Linked DNA regions of Homo sapiens: all the other regions are linked to region 2. The links are contacts of gene promoters, found by promoter capture Hi-C in human tissues and cell types (Jung and others, 2019). All regions are on one chromosome and are shown on one strand. The core of a region is centred on a gene start or on the middle of the fragment in contact, and the rest is flanking DNA. Distances in the headings are between cores, read along the strand shown. Region 1 overlaps NOL10 (nucleolar protein 10). Region 2 holds the start of YWHAQ (tyrosine 3-monooxygenase/tryptophan 5-monooxygenase activation protein theta). Region 3 has its middle 31 kb from the start of LINC01814.

The links. Contacts are between HindIII fragments. The study calls those that stand out against the background at their distance.
Region 1: a contact is called between a fragment that was not itself captured here and the fragment with the promoter of YWHAQ in region 2, in 1 of the 25 tissues and cell types used here (small bowel).
Region 3: a contact is called between a fragment that was not itself captured here and the fragment with the promoter of YWHAQ in region 2, in 1 of the 25 tissues and cell types used here (aorta).

Annotation. Positions count from the first base shown.
Region 1 is chr2:10,636,096-10,640,946 of GRCh38, forward strand. All of the region lies in intron 13 of NOL10 (nucleolar protein 10), which reads right to left. Among named protein-coding and RNA genes, the nearest start is that of NOL10, 51 kb to the right of the region's middle. The HindIII fragment of the contact is 3,986 bases long and covers 465-4,450 here.
Region 2 is chr2:9,628,684-9,633,389 of GRCh38, forward strand. YWHAQ (tyrosine 3-monooxygenase/tryptophan 5-monooxygenase activation protein theta) reads right to left here and starts at 2,314. Exons shown (of 6, transcript NM_006826.4): 1 at 2,258-2,314; 2 at 1,476-1,851. The coding sequence starts at 1,769. RefSeq lists enhancers at 900-1,802, 1,546-1,645 and silencers at 1,766-2,115, 2,316-2,415, 2,466-2,635. The HindIII fragment of the contact is 8,846 bases long and covers 952-4,706 here.
Region 3 is chr2:8,550,426-8,555,049 of GRCh38, forward strand. No RefSeq gene overlaps it. Among named protein-coding and RNA genes, the nearest start is that of LINC01814, 31 kb to the right of the region's middle. The HindIII fragment of the contact is 3,310 bases long and covers 357-3,666 here.

The DNA.
Region 1 (4,851 bases), core at 1,208-3,707, 1.0 Mb after region 2:
CAGGCTAGTCTCAAGCTCTTGGCCTCAAGTGATCTACCCGCCTCGGCCTCCCAAAGTGCTGGGATTACAGGCATGAGCCACCATGCCTGGCCCATCCAGGAATTTTTGACACTTATTTTCAAGATACTGTCAAATCTACCGTTAAACTAAAACAACATATACTCTGGATAGCTGATAAAATATGGCATCTTTGGCCGGGCACAGTGGCTTACACCTGTAATCCCAATCCCAACACTCTAAGAGGCCGAGACAGGAAGACTGCTTGAGCCCAGGAGTTGGCGACCAGCCTGGGCAACATAGTGAAACCCTGTCTCTACAAAAAACCAAAAAAAAAAAAAAAAAAAAAAAAAACACCAAACAAAATTAGCTGGGTGTGGCGGCATATACCTGTAGTCCCAGATACTCGAGAGGCTGAGGTAGGAAAATCACCTGAGCCCAGAAAGTTGTGACGCTGCAGTGAGCCATGATCACACCAATGCACTCCACCCTGGGAGACAGAGTGCGACCTTCAATCAAAGAAAAAAAAAAAAAGTATCTTCTTAATGAAGCTGAGGAGTAAGGCTGTGTTCTTAAGACTTTGGAAAATTATGCCAAAACACACCAGAACAGTAATGTTTCAAATACTGAACTTGAAAAAAGATACCATCTATATAGGAAGAAGATCACATAGCGATGATTAAAAAGTATCCATAAGTACCTCTCTAACAGACAACAGTCATTGACATAGTCATGGAGTTTAGAACTAGACTAACAAATTCAATTCACCACAGACAGAAGTTAAAATTGTTTGCACCTAAATTTGTTTTTGTCACAAAACCCTTAGAGGCTGGGTGTGGTAGCTCACGCCTGTAATCCTAGCACCTTGGGAGGCCCAGATGGGTGGATCACTTGAGGCCAGGAATTCAAGACCAGCCTGGCCAACACAGCAAAACCCCATGTCTACTAAAAATACAAAAATTAGTCAGGTGTGGTGGTGCGTACCTGCAATCCCAGCTACTTGAGAGGCTGAGGTAAGAGAATCGCTTGACCCAGGAGATGGAGGTTGATTGTGCTACTGCACTCTAATCTGGGCCACGGAGCAAGACACTGTCTCAAAAAAAAAAAAAAAAAAAAAAAAACACACACACACACTAAAACCAAAAACCCTTACAGAAAAAAACCTGAGAAAAAGACTATAATATCTATTTGTATTTCTTCATTGAGCAAGAAAAAAATCTGCCAGACTGCAAATATTCATACATTTACTAGAAAAATGTCCATGCCATTTCCCTAAAACTGACTTCCCAAAGCTATAATGATTTCAAAAGCATCTCCCTGACAACCCCTAAAATTCTGCAGCACCTACTGCCTTGCCATCTTTACAGGTGCAGGAGCACAGATGTCTGCCCTAGCCCAGTGACTGAAGCCCTGAGGAGATACCAGCGTTGAACCCTGTGATGGCGTCAGAAGGCCTCACCTCTGCGGGGAGTGTGCTACCTACTCAGCTGAGAGGCTTAGAAACATTCACTAAACAACCTTTTATTACATTCCAAAAAATGTGGCTTCCAATTGTGCATTTCCTTTGGTTTGCGTGCCTCTGTGAAGCTGTGTGGTATGTATTTTTGAGGCCTTATGCTTCTTAACACATAGTGTCCTCTATTTGCGAAGACAGAGTTTTGTGGGTTTATGAACTGCTGGATAAGCTCCAGTGCGATTCTGAACAGACGCAGAAGCACTAGTGCAAGTTAGAAGGGTTCTTCATGTTTTTAACCGCCTCATTTGCAGGCTCCAAGAGTACTTTCCAAATTTTAAATTAAATGGTAAATGTTAAAATATTTAATCAGTGTTTTATTTTAAACAGTCAAAATATTTTAATAGAAATAATATAGGAGTTTCTTAAGAAAATGTTTGAAAATAAAATAACTGGCCAGGTGCAGTGACTTACACCTGTAATCCCAACACTTTGGGAGGCCAACGTGGGAGGATCGCTTGAGGCCAGGAGTTTGAGACCAGCCTTGGCAACACAGTGAGATCCTCTCTCTACAAAAAAACAGCATAAAAATTAGCTGGGCTTGGTGGCACATGCCTGTAGTCCTACCTACTCACAAAGCTGAGGCGGGAGGATGCTAGAGCCCCAAAGGATGAAGCTGCAGTGAGTTATGATCACGTCACTGCACTCCAGACAGGGTGACAGAGCAAGACCCTGTCTCATTCAAAAATAACGTAACGTGACGTGACGTGACGTGACGTGACGTGACGTAACGTAACGTAACGTAACGTAACGTAACAGTACCTAACTGCCATTCTTGAAAGCTGGGTGCAGTATTTATTCTTTATAACATCTTAAATAGTGACATTAAAAAAAGAAAAAAACAAAAACAAAGCACATACCCTTATAGCTGAATTCCCTTTTTTTTTTTTTTTTTTTTTTTTTTGAGATAGAGTCTCACCCTGTCACCCAGGCTGGAGTGCAATGGCATGATTTCAGCTCACTGCAACCTCCGCTTCCCAGGTTCAAGCAATTCTCCTGCCTCAGCCTCCCAAGTAGCTGGGATTACAGGTGCCCACAATGACCCCCGGCTGATTTTTTGTCTCTTTAGTAGAGACGGGATTTCACCATGTTGGCCAGGTTGGTCTTGAACTCCTGAACTCGTGATCCGCCCGCCTTGGCCTCCCAAAGTGCTGGGATTACAGGCGTTTGAGCCACCGTGCCTGGCCTTTTTTTTTTTTTTTTTTTTTTTTTTTTGAGACAGATTCTTGCTCCGTTGCCCAGGCTGGAGTGCACTGGTGTGGTCTCGGCTCACTGCACCCTCTGCCTTCCAGGTTCAAGCGATTCTCCTGCCTCAGCCTCCTGAGTAGTTGGGACTACAGGCACACACCACCACGCCTGGTTAATTTTTGTACTTTCAGTAGAGATGGGGTTTCACTATGTTTGCTAGGCTGGTCTCAAACTCCTGCCCTTAAGTGATCTGCCCATCTCAGCCTCCCAAAGTGCTAGGATTACAGGCGTGAGCCACCATGCCTGGCCAACTGAATTACTTTTATTCTTCTAAATCAAACAGCTTGGGCCAGGCGCGGTGGCTCACACCTGTAATCCCAGCACTTTGGGAGGCCGAGGCAGGCGGATCACAAGGTCAGGAGATCAAGACTATCCTGGCTAACACAGTGAAATCCCGTCTCTACTAAAAATACAAAAAATTAGCTGGGCGTGGCAGCGTGCGCCTATAGTCCCAGCTGCTGGGGAGGCTGAGACAGGAGAATGGCGTGAAGCCGGGAGGCAGAGCTTGCAGTGAGCCGAGATCCTGCCATTGCACTCCAGCCTGGGCGACAGAGCGAGACTCCATCTAAATCAAACAGCTTCCCAAACAAATAGTTTTCCTCCTACATTTTTCCTCAAGTTTACACATCCACATTACCAAGCAGCAAGCAATCACTCACACCCCAACCACCACCACCAAGCAATGAGTGGCTGCAGGAGTGCCCTGATATGCTAGGGGCTCGGAATTCAGGAGCATTTCCAACAGAAACACCATTAAGCAGAAAGGTTTTGGGTTGGGTGCCATAGGGGACTTGGATTCCCTCTGAAGTCTACATAGTTGCCAAGGATGTTAATTATAAAGAACTAACCTAAGATTAAATTATGTTTCAGAGGAAAAAGCAAGCTTGAAAAATTATTCTTGGCATTAGTCTCTGAAGCTGCAGACGAATTAGACCCTGGAGAAAACAAACAAACAAAACAATAGAACCTGGTCTCTGAGAGAATTAAAAAAATAAAAATAAAAATAAAAAATAAGGAAAGAACTGAGAAAATGGGACAGGGGCTGCAGACAACCCATTTGGTCTCAAAGGACAAGCTGGCTACAGAGATATCTAAGTGCCAGAAGGTGGTGTATCAGGAACTGCATTAGTTTATAAAGATTTCAATTACTCAAGAAAGATGATATCAGATAGGCAAAAATTAACAAGCTAAAAGAACACTAAGTTGCCTTCATCTTCAGTATGCCCCAAAGAGGGAGGGAAAAAGTTTTCAAACCTGATTTATAAGATGTTAATACAAATCACAGTCCAGGCTTCCTAAACTTGGCATGGATCATACATTAAACACACATTTCTTTGGTTCTATAGGCCTCAAATGAACCTTCCTGCCAAACGTCAACTTGGTACGTTTGATAAAATCTTATGAAAAATGGCAGGCTTTCAGACCCCTGGGCTCTCCCTTTGCTTTGAAGGAGTTTACAAAGAGCAGTTTCCAAGTAAAGACAAGTGGTGCTATAAAATATCACTCAGTACTGTGGGAGGGAGCAGGGCAGAAAGGTAGGTCAGAAAGGAACACTGAAGTCCAAGTTTCAGCATAATGCTTCGCTTAGCAAAAGCAACTTCTGCTCACACTGTCCCCATATGCAGCTCACCTAGGAGAGGGCTCTCTGGATGTTTTTTTCACAGCTTTCTGTTAAATCTCAGGTAGAAAGTTGAAACTAAAAAGGTCTTATAAGATAAGCTAACATTTGTCAAGAAGGCAATTTCTCATCACCTGGCTATCATCCAGCCCCTCACACTTCATACTTCATACTTCTTCTCATCACCAGCCCCTCATACTCATGCTAATTAAAGTCACCATTACTTGGAACAAAAACGCCCACCCTAAGAAACTGATCCAGAGAATCAGAAGTAAACAATGGGTCTCTTACAGTTCTAAGATAATAGACATGTCATAAACCAGCCAATGACATATAATAGAGGCAACTAAAAATGTTTTAGGTAATTGCAGTACCTTAGAATTAATATTTCCAAGGTTAACTGAAGAAACCAGGAACCAATTTGTATATAAAATACAACTTTGGGGCTCATGCCTGTAATCCCAGCACTTTGGGA
Region 2 (4,706 bases), core at 1,064-3,563:
AGTTGAAGTCTACCACTACTTTCAAGTTGGCAAAATTTTTTAATACGAGCAATTCAGTCCAAAAAGCTTTTACAAGTGCTTCTTCAATGCCAAGCAGGGACTGGAAGCTAAGAGCACACGGAAGAATACAACGAAGTTTTGACTTCATAAAGTAAATAATCTTAAGTTTTCTCCACTTTAGTACACACTGTCTGCATTACTTTCTTTGCCTCTTTACCAGTTATTTCCATCAGCCATGATTTTGTCCGGATCGCCTGTCATCGTATTAGAAAAATAGATAGGTTAAAAAAGTTTCGTGGATTTTTTTTTTTTAAACAAGGGGTGGGGAACATATTCCCTGCCCCACCATTCTGATGAGATGAAGAAAGGCGGCTTGGGGGGTGGGGGTGGGGGAGGAGGCCAGGGAGAAATTATTTCTTCCATTCCCTTTTGAAAAATCCCCAGTCTAGTATGCTTGTCTATCAAAGCCCACCTAAAATATGATGTGCACAAACACATCAAAAATAAGTAGGCCTCTTGTAAAAGTGACACTTAAAAGGCAAACCATATGAGATTATTTCCCATTTTATTCATAGAAATGACTCTTGGCAGCACTGAAACATTTAAAAACACTCCTGGATATAATGCTGGTATTTCAGTTTTAAAAACTTATCCTACGGATCAAAAGATCCATGGAATGACAAAGCTAAAAATGTTCTCTCTCACTAATAAGGGTGAATCACAGCAGCCACCTACTCCACCCAACAATCGTCCTTGCTAAGACTGGACAGTTCAAAACCTGGAAAGCTTTCCTTGTCTGCTCCACACTGGAAACGAATTCACTTCAACACTAGTGTTTAAGCACAGGTGTGCAACAGCAAGGAAATGTTATTAAATGTTGAAATTTACCAGGACATTGTGTTCTTCAGATACAGCTGTGTCCTTTTCACATTTCCCGAACTCCCCTCCTCTCCTGTTTATGGGGGGTGGGGGGGAGCACAACAGATACTCTTACTTGAAAAATAAAGTATCTGTTCAGATTTTCTAAGTAAATTTCCATTACTGGGTTTGGGAAAAAATCCCTACTACATTGTCTGTAACAAAAAGGTGCCTGCGCCTTCTTTCAACTGCCTGAAGCTTGTGAACCGACTGAATACATTTAAAGGGCTCACAGATCTCAGGACGCAGTCTCCCCGCACAAGAAACTTAAAAACGCCTTTCAGTCTCGCAGAGACCTACTTGGATGTTTCCAAGTTCCATCGTTTGGTAGCTACCCAGCATCTGGGGCGAAAAAAAAGGACTTATCCTTGGAAAAGCGGCTTCTTGAGTCTCAACAACCGGAGGGACACAGTAGGGAAGTCAGGGCTCACCTAAAACCCTCCACCCCAGCAGACAGTCCGGCAAGCCCCGGCTCACGTTTGTTTCCGTGCCCGCGAAACTCTCAATGAAAAGCATCTCACAAAAGGCCTCCCCTGCTCCCCGCGCCGAGGACTCACCAGCACCGTGGTGCAGATGGATCTCAGCTCGGACTCCACTTTCTCCCGATAGTCCTTAATCAGCTGCAACTTCTTGTCGGAGGTGTCGGTCTTCTGCTCGATGCTAGAGATGACCCTCCAGGCGGACCTGCGGCCCCCGACCACGTTCTTGTAGGCCACGGAGAGCAGGTTGCGCTCCTCGTTGGACAGCTCGGCGCCCTGCTCGGTCACTGCCTTCATGCAGGTGGCCATGTCGTCGTAGCGCTCGGCCTGCTCGGCCAGCTTGGCCTTCTGGATCAGCTCAGTCTTCTCCATGGCGGGCGCGGGGCCGGGGCCGGGGCGGAGGGCGAGGAGAGCGAGGGCGAGCGCCGACCCGCAGCGGGAGGAGCCTCGAGAGCTGCGGAGGGGCGGGGCGGCGAGGCGAGAACAAAAAGCAGAGAGGGAGCGCCGTCAGACAATGCGGCCCGCCGCCCGCTTTTGTCTCCCGCACACGCGGCCGCTTGAATTTCCCTCTCCCCCGCCCCCTCCCCCGCTGGGCACCCGGGGAGGCCGCGGCCCGCGGCTGGAGGAGGCGGGGGCGGCGCGGAGGCCCCGCGCGCAGGGAGCCCGAGCCGCGGCCGCTCCCGCCACCCCCGCCCGGCCGGCCCAAGATGGAAGCGACCGTTGGCCCCGCACCTTCCCGCCCGGAGCCGTCCCTGAGGGGAGCGGCATCGACAACCGGCTGCTCTCAAGGGCGGCACCTCCGCCCGGCCCTCAATCCGAGCGCGGCCGGAGGAAGCCCGCGGGCCGACCCAGGCGCTCACCTTCACGTCTCCGCGGCCGCGACGCGAGTCCCACCACTTTGATCTGCTTTTGGCTTTAGCTGAGGACCCTCCCGTGTCAGCCTACCCCGGGGCCGAGGGGCGGTCCACCGCCCAATGATGCGCCGAGCTTCTCCCGAGAGTCCCGCCCCCAGCGCGCCGCTGGCCAATGAGGACCGAGCGCGCGGAAGGGGGCGAGGGGGGCGGAGCGGGAGGGAACGCGGAGGCTAGGAGGGTGGGTCGGTACGGGGAAGTTCGGTTGGCCGGCAGGCTGCGGCTTCGGCCACGGGGTTTCCTCCAATTAGATCCAGGGTAAAAGGACGTCACTGTTGCCATGGCGATGCCGTTACCAACTCCCCTCAGCCTCCCCGCCACCCCGGCACTTCTGGGTGCGGCACGAGACCCAGAGGCGCGCACGACCTCCTAGGCGGCGGCTGCGTCTCCCGCTGCGGATGGTGCATTGCATCTCACGGGCTCTGGCCGAGGCTGGACTTCGGAGGGTGACATATTCAGCTGTTTTAGAGCACGGGGGCCTTTCTTTCCTCCACCTTTCTATCCGTGACAAAGGTTTGGATCCCAAGACACTAAACCCAGACCTTAATGACGTTGCCATTAGGGCTCCGAATTAAGCAAACCGCATCCCCATTAAAGAAGAATTGATTCTGGAGACGGTGTCTTCAGTATGGCATTTACATGATAAATTCAAGTTTTCAGATGGGCATCCTAAAACAAAAAATTCCCTTGTGAAAAGGTAGGTCCCAGAAGATCCAGGGGAGTTTCTGTGACAATGCCAAGTATTGTGGTTTTCTTTAAAATGAGAAATGACATTAAGCACAATTTGCAGGAAAACACCTATTACTACCCCTTCCCACCCCCGCAAAAAAAAACCCTGCCCATAACATCTCTCCCCGCAAAAAAAAAGCAATTTTTATGTATCTTTTAGGCTTTCCAGGTTATGCACCTAAATACATCATTTTTCACATCGTTGTCACATGTGCACACGCTTTTGTTTCTGGTATTATTTGTGAGAGGTCACTTGAAAAGCTGAAATCCTCTCCCTGGATGTTGATTTCTGATTTTCTCCTCCTGGGGAACACCCTGCTGAAGCGAGAAAGATTCCCCCAGGCCCCTCCCATTCAGGGTCATCCCTGGCAGCTCCCTTTCCTCTTAAACCACTCCTGTCTCTCCTTGCACTTCCCCAGTTCCCTAACTCCATCCAGGTAGGGTGGCTGCCCTGCCCGTCTGGCGCGTGGTCCCTGTGCCATCTTAAGATGAGAATTGCCCTCTGGGTTCACGCTGCTATGATCCCGATTCCAGCAGGTCTAAGGAGAATGGATCATAAAGAATTTCCCATTCTGAGTGGAGACTGGAGCAAATCCGGAGAATCTCTAGAATGGGAGATTTGAGAGTGCAGACAGATGGGAGGAGAAGGTGCCGACTTTCCAGAAATTCAGACTCCCTCTTGACTGCCCCTCCCTGTCCTGACTTGTGAAGGTTGCTTTGTGCTTTGACAGACAGGAGCGGCCTGGATTGGAAAGGGCCTGTGTCTTAATGCAGAAATGCCTTACTATGTTCCAGCCTTCTAATGGAGGGCCCTGCTGTTATTTCTGGAATCCCTGGGGCCCCGCTACAGACACATGAGTGTTTATGGCCCTGTGGGCTGGGGTGGAGCTGGACACCGAGAAATCCCAATGGAAAGAATTTGCATGTGGAAGGTCAGATAAAATGCCTTCTGTATGACCAGTGAATTTCAAGCTCACCAAAATTAGAGGCAACCCGGGCAAGGGGAGAAGCCAGTGGAGGTGGATGGGGGATAGAGACCCAGGAGAGGAAATTGTCAGGGGATGGAACCTCTGTGGTAGAGAGGGACTACCAGAAGGAGCAAGCACACTAAATTCTTTGTCAGAAAGTCTAGGCTGTGCTGTGGTCTCCCCCAGTGACCTTGGGCAAGTTTTTGCTGCTTTCTGTACCTTAGTCTCTGAAATTTCTGCTTTCATTCAATCAAATATTTATTGAACACCAACTCATCTAGTTGCAATCATCTGGAATCATGGGTAAAAACTGCTTCCAACCAATAACACAGTATAAAATTGCATTTTAGGAAGATTCAGAGGACCCTCTACATAGCTAAAGGCTTCTGTGCCTGAAAGAACTCGGGTTGGAGAGAAACAAGGCTCTGGGAACTTGAAGTCCCTGGACACAGAAAGAGCTAACCTGTGTTGAGTGATTGCATATGTCAAGCACTATTTTAAGTCTTTTGCAAGAATTAACTTATCCAATCTGCTTAATGCAACTACAAAGTAGGTGTTATTATACTCACTATCTCTATTTCACAGACAAGGAAATTAAGGCACAGGGTGGTCAAGCATGACGTACAGGGCCACACAGCTAGAGAGCGGCAGAACCTTGGATATGGACCCCATGCAGTTTGGGTGCCAAAGCCCATCTTTTT
Region 3 (4,624 bases), core at 762-3,261, 1.1 Mb before region 2:
AATGAATTTCCCCAAGTTCAGCAGCCTAACGCAACACAAGTAGATTATGTCATAGTCCCTGTGGGCCGGGGACCTGGGAGTGGCCAGCTGGTCCCCCTGGCTCCGGGCATCTCACAAGCTGCAATCAAGCTGACAACCTGTGGTCATCTCGGGGCCTGCTTGGGGTAGGATTTGGTTCCAAGCTCACTCACATAGCTGTTGGCTGGAGACCTCGATTCCTTACATGGGGGCCTGTCCCGAGGCCAGTGACTTCCTTCAGGGTGAGTGACCAAGCAAAGGCATGAGTGACAGTGAGCAAGACATGTGGCCTCATCACGGAAGCGGCATATTGTCACCTTTGCTGTAGTCTGTGGTCTATCCACGAGAAGCAAGTCCTGAGATCCAGCCCACGCTCCAGGGATGGGCACGATGAGAGGCTGTGACAACAGCAGTGGGGGTCACCAGGCAGTCCTAGAGGCTGCCGGCCACACGGGCCCATGGAGGAGCCCAGGTCACAGACACCACTGTCCTTAGTTTGATTCTTCACCCAGGAGCCTGACTGTGTTCCTTAGGTAATAATAATAGCCCCAAGGGGAGCTAAAACTTGATTCCCAGTCTGAGAGATTTCTTCCTCCTGTTCCTCCCAGAATCCAAGTGCCAAATCAGACGAGCACGTCTTAAAGATCATCTGCGCGCTCGGCTATGTAAAGAAACACAAGCGTATTTGTATTTCGCTGGTGTCAGGCCGAAAACTTGGCACCATCCCTCACTCCTCCGCTCCCTTGCCATACGATTCCAGTCAGCCCCCAATTCCTCTAAAGCAGTGATTTTTTTCATCTCTCCTTTTCTCTTTGACTGCCCTCAATGAAGAGAAACCCTAATGGTCCTGGCGTTTCCACTGCTCCTTCAGTCACTCCCAGGTGTCATGATAAGGGCCCTGTCATACAGTCCTAATTGCTGTTCAAAGACCATCCGTGGCTCCCACAGCCAACAGGCAAGGACCATGCTTGAGTCTGGCCTGCAGGGCCTTCAGCTTCACAGCCCGGCCCACTCCCCACACCACCCCCTGGCTCCAGTCCCCCGGTCCACATGCCTGGCACCTTCCCACTTCTAAGCCTTCATCTACCCCTTTCCTAACCCTCAAATGCTTTTCCCATTCTTCTTACCCAAATCCTGGTGGCCCTTCAAGGTCAAGTTCATGCCCTCCCTTAATTATGAATTTTTCCAGATGACTCCAACTCTTCAAGGCTGGACTTGGCAAGAGGCAGTGTGTGTTCAGCGGGATCAGTGAAATCAAAACACTCATGACCACAAGCCAACTGCTCAGAAAATCATCTGGGTTTGCCTCCCCATGCCTGCACCCTGCTCTTGTCTTCACTACCTGGTGACTCCGTATGGGTCACCTGGACTTAGCCTTCCAGCTCTCCTGGGGAGCAGTTCTCAATTCCCTTCCCTCTGAACACCTGCTTCTATGCAGCCCCATGTGACTACTTTCTCCCTCCCCCAAATCTCCTTCTCCCCGGATCCGTTCTCACTACCCCACCACACCACCGTCAGGGCACAGCCCTCTCTAGACGCCCACTGCAGTCACTGTCTGGAAGATGACTCATCACATCCCCTCAGACCCCTGTGTAGTTTTCGATCTTTCTATCTAGTTCCCAACGAGACTTTGAGCACTTTCTTGACAAGTCCAATTCATCTCTGAATCCAGAACAGGGTGGGGACAGAGGGCATATACACATAATCCCAGGAAAGACAAAGGTGAAAATTGTCCATGGATATACCTTTGCGGGAAAAAAAAAAGAATACACTGAAGTGGCTTTACTCTATCTTCTTAACATTCAGAAATACAAAGCTGTCTTTCCACCCACAATCCCGGACTATAAACTCAGCAGCACACGCACAGAGGGTGTAGAGAACAATGGGGGCGAGCACAGGGAGGGTGCAGCCGAGTCCCCCTTTTCCACACTCGGGGGTGAGACAGCGGGGCCTCAGATGCAGATGTGAGAAGCGGATGTGAAGCAGATCTGGGAGGGCCTCAGCAGCCTCACACAAGACCTCCTGACATCAGCATACACCCCGTCTTCCCGACAAGTTTCCCTTTTCCTGGTCCCCATTAGAGAACACCCACATTACTCATTGCACAGTTACCGTTGAACTTTCTATTCTGACGTTCTCTTTTCACACTCGTTCAGAAATACACGCTGGTACCATTTCATTTGCTTTTAAATAGCACGCCGAAGAGGAGACATGCCCAGTGGTCTCCGAGTCATGCCCCACAGGATCCAGGTCATTTGCCTAAAAGGCAGAAGTCAGACCTGGTGAAAGCTCACAGGTAACAGCCGGGGGGCCGCCCTTGCACCTGGCATAGGCCTCACCAACCAGGTGCCTGTGCAGAGGTCTCTTAACTGTTTAAACTAAGGTAGGTTTTTCTGAAAAGCAGCCTCTCTCAGATTTTTTGGCCTCAGGACCACTTTGCCCTCTTAAAAATTATTCAGCATCCTCAAAAGCTTTTGTTCATGTGAGTTTAGATTTGATGGCATTTGCTGTTTTACAAATTAAAACTGAGAAAATTTTAAAATATGTATCAACTTGTATCAAAAATAACAATAATTCATGACATGTAAACATAAATTTCATATTTTAAGAAAAATAACTACATTTTCTTTCTTTCTTTTTTTTTTTTTTTTTTTTTTTTTGAGACAGAGTCTTGCTCTGTCACCCAGGCTGGAGTGGCAGTGGCCCAATGTCAGCTCACTGCAACCTCTGCCTCACGGTTTCAAGCGATTCTCCTGCCTCAGCCTCTCCAGTAGCTGGGGTTACAGGCGCCCACAACCATGCCCAGCTAATTTTTGTGTTTTTAGTAAAGACAGGGTTTCATCATGTTGGCCAGGCTGGTCTCGAACTACTGACCTCAAGTAATCCATCTGCCTCGGCCTCCCAAAGTGCTGGGATTACAAGCGTGAGCCACCGTGCCCCAGCCACTATACTTTTCAAAACAAAAATATCAGTGAGAAGAATGGCAATAATTTATGCCTGTTCAAAGCTCCTGGGTGTCTGACTTAGAAAACAGCCAGGTTGTCAGATCTGCTTCTGCCCTCAGCCTGGGCCATTAGATCACTTTAGCTGAGGCATGTGAAGAAAATTCAGCCCGAAACAAATATGTAGCTAGAAAAGAGGGACATGTCTGTAATAGACTTTTCAGACAATTGTGGCTATTCCTCTTCCATACTATACCAAAATTCAAATCATGATAGTTTCTCATAGGTTAGCTGCACTGTTGAATGAGAACCCATCTCACCTATTTTTTTTATATGACTACATTAAAATCTATTAGCTATCCTGCACTTTGAATAGATCATTTGTTTACCCACTCATGATTTTGCAATAAATGTATTGGTCATTTGGCAAATATTGATTCACTGACGTGTGATCTATCAAACGTCAACACATTTCATTACACAGCCAGTGCATTAATATGATCATGAATTCCATCAGAAAAGTCCGGAGGTGTTAGGAAGCTATCAAGCTCACAGCAATGGATACAAGTTTTCTAAAATTTTAATTTTCACACGAAAGGTCTAATTGTATGGCAACAGATACTATCAGTTATTTTTCCTGAAGCCACAGGCTTACTTCATTTATTTTCAAGAAAATGTCTGCCAAATATCCAAGTCTGGTTAACCTAGTTTAGGTTACAGAAGTCCCTCTCAGCTCTAAAAGGCCAGCCTCTTACAGAAAGTTCTGAGGGTCTTAAAGTTCAGGGCAAAGCAAAAAAGAGACCTCCAGGGAGATATTCCCTGCAAGCAGCTCCCAACAGCCCAGGGAATGACGATTAATTTGAACCGCATTTTCCCAGGGCATTGGTAAGAGGTCAGCCTACTCCACAGCTGATCTCTAAATCCCAAACCCAGCATCCAGTGTAGAAATGATGAAAATGGCCAATACATTCTTCTGGCAGTTGGTGCAGTGCTCAGTGCATGAAGGTTGAAGTAACCGTGCAGTGTGGGGCACCAGCCAAGACGCCGTTTCTACCTGGGGGCTGTCTCACCGTGCAGGAGGCGCGTTTGCTCCACAGTTTACTGTCAGCATCATACATACAGGTAACCAAAACCCTTGTCAACGGCCACAGGCAACCATCAATAGTGAGCACAATGTAACCAACGAAGGCTGGGGTGTGAAGAATCCAGCCAGCCTGATAGGCAGGGCACCATGCTGCAGTCAGGAGACCTGGGTTCCGGGGCCAGCCCTGCCTCCAACATGCTAGGGACCATGGCCAAACCACTTAATGTCTTTGCATGGGCTTCTTTGCCCTATAAAATGGTCAGGGGTGAGGTAGATGAACTCAACAGGTGCTGAAATTCTCCTCTAAGAAGTAGAGATATAATTACAAGATGTCAGCGCATAATATCATGTGTACCCACCCTAAAAACTCCATGAACCCCCAATGGACACACAAAAAAAATCATTGCTTACAGGTAATATTACTTTCTAACCAAAGTTTTATTTTAGAAATTTTAAAATATTGTCATAACCGAGAAGAAAAGTCTGTAGGATGGCAGGTGATGTTGGAGCGGGGTTAAACAAATAGACCACTGGGACATGTTAGAGTCTAGAAACAGATCCATTATAAATGGAAATTTAA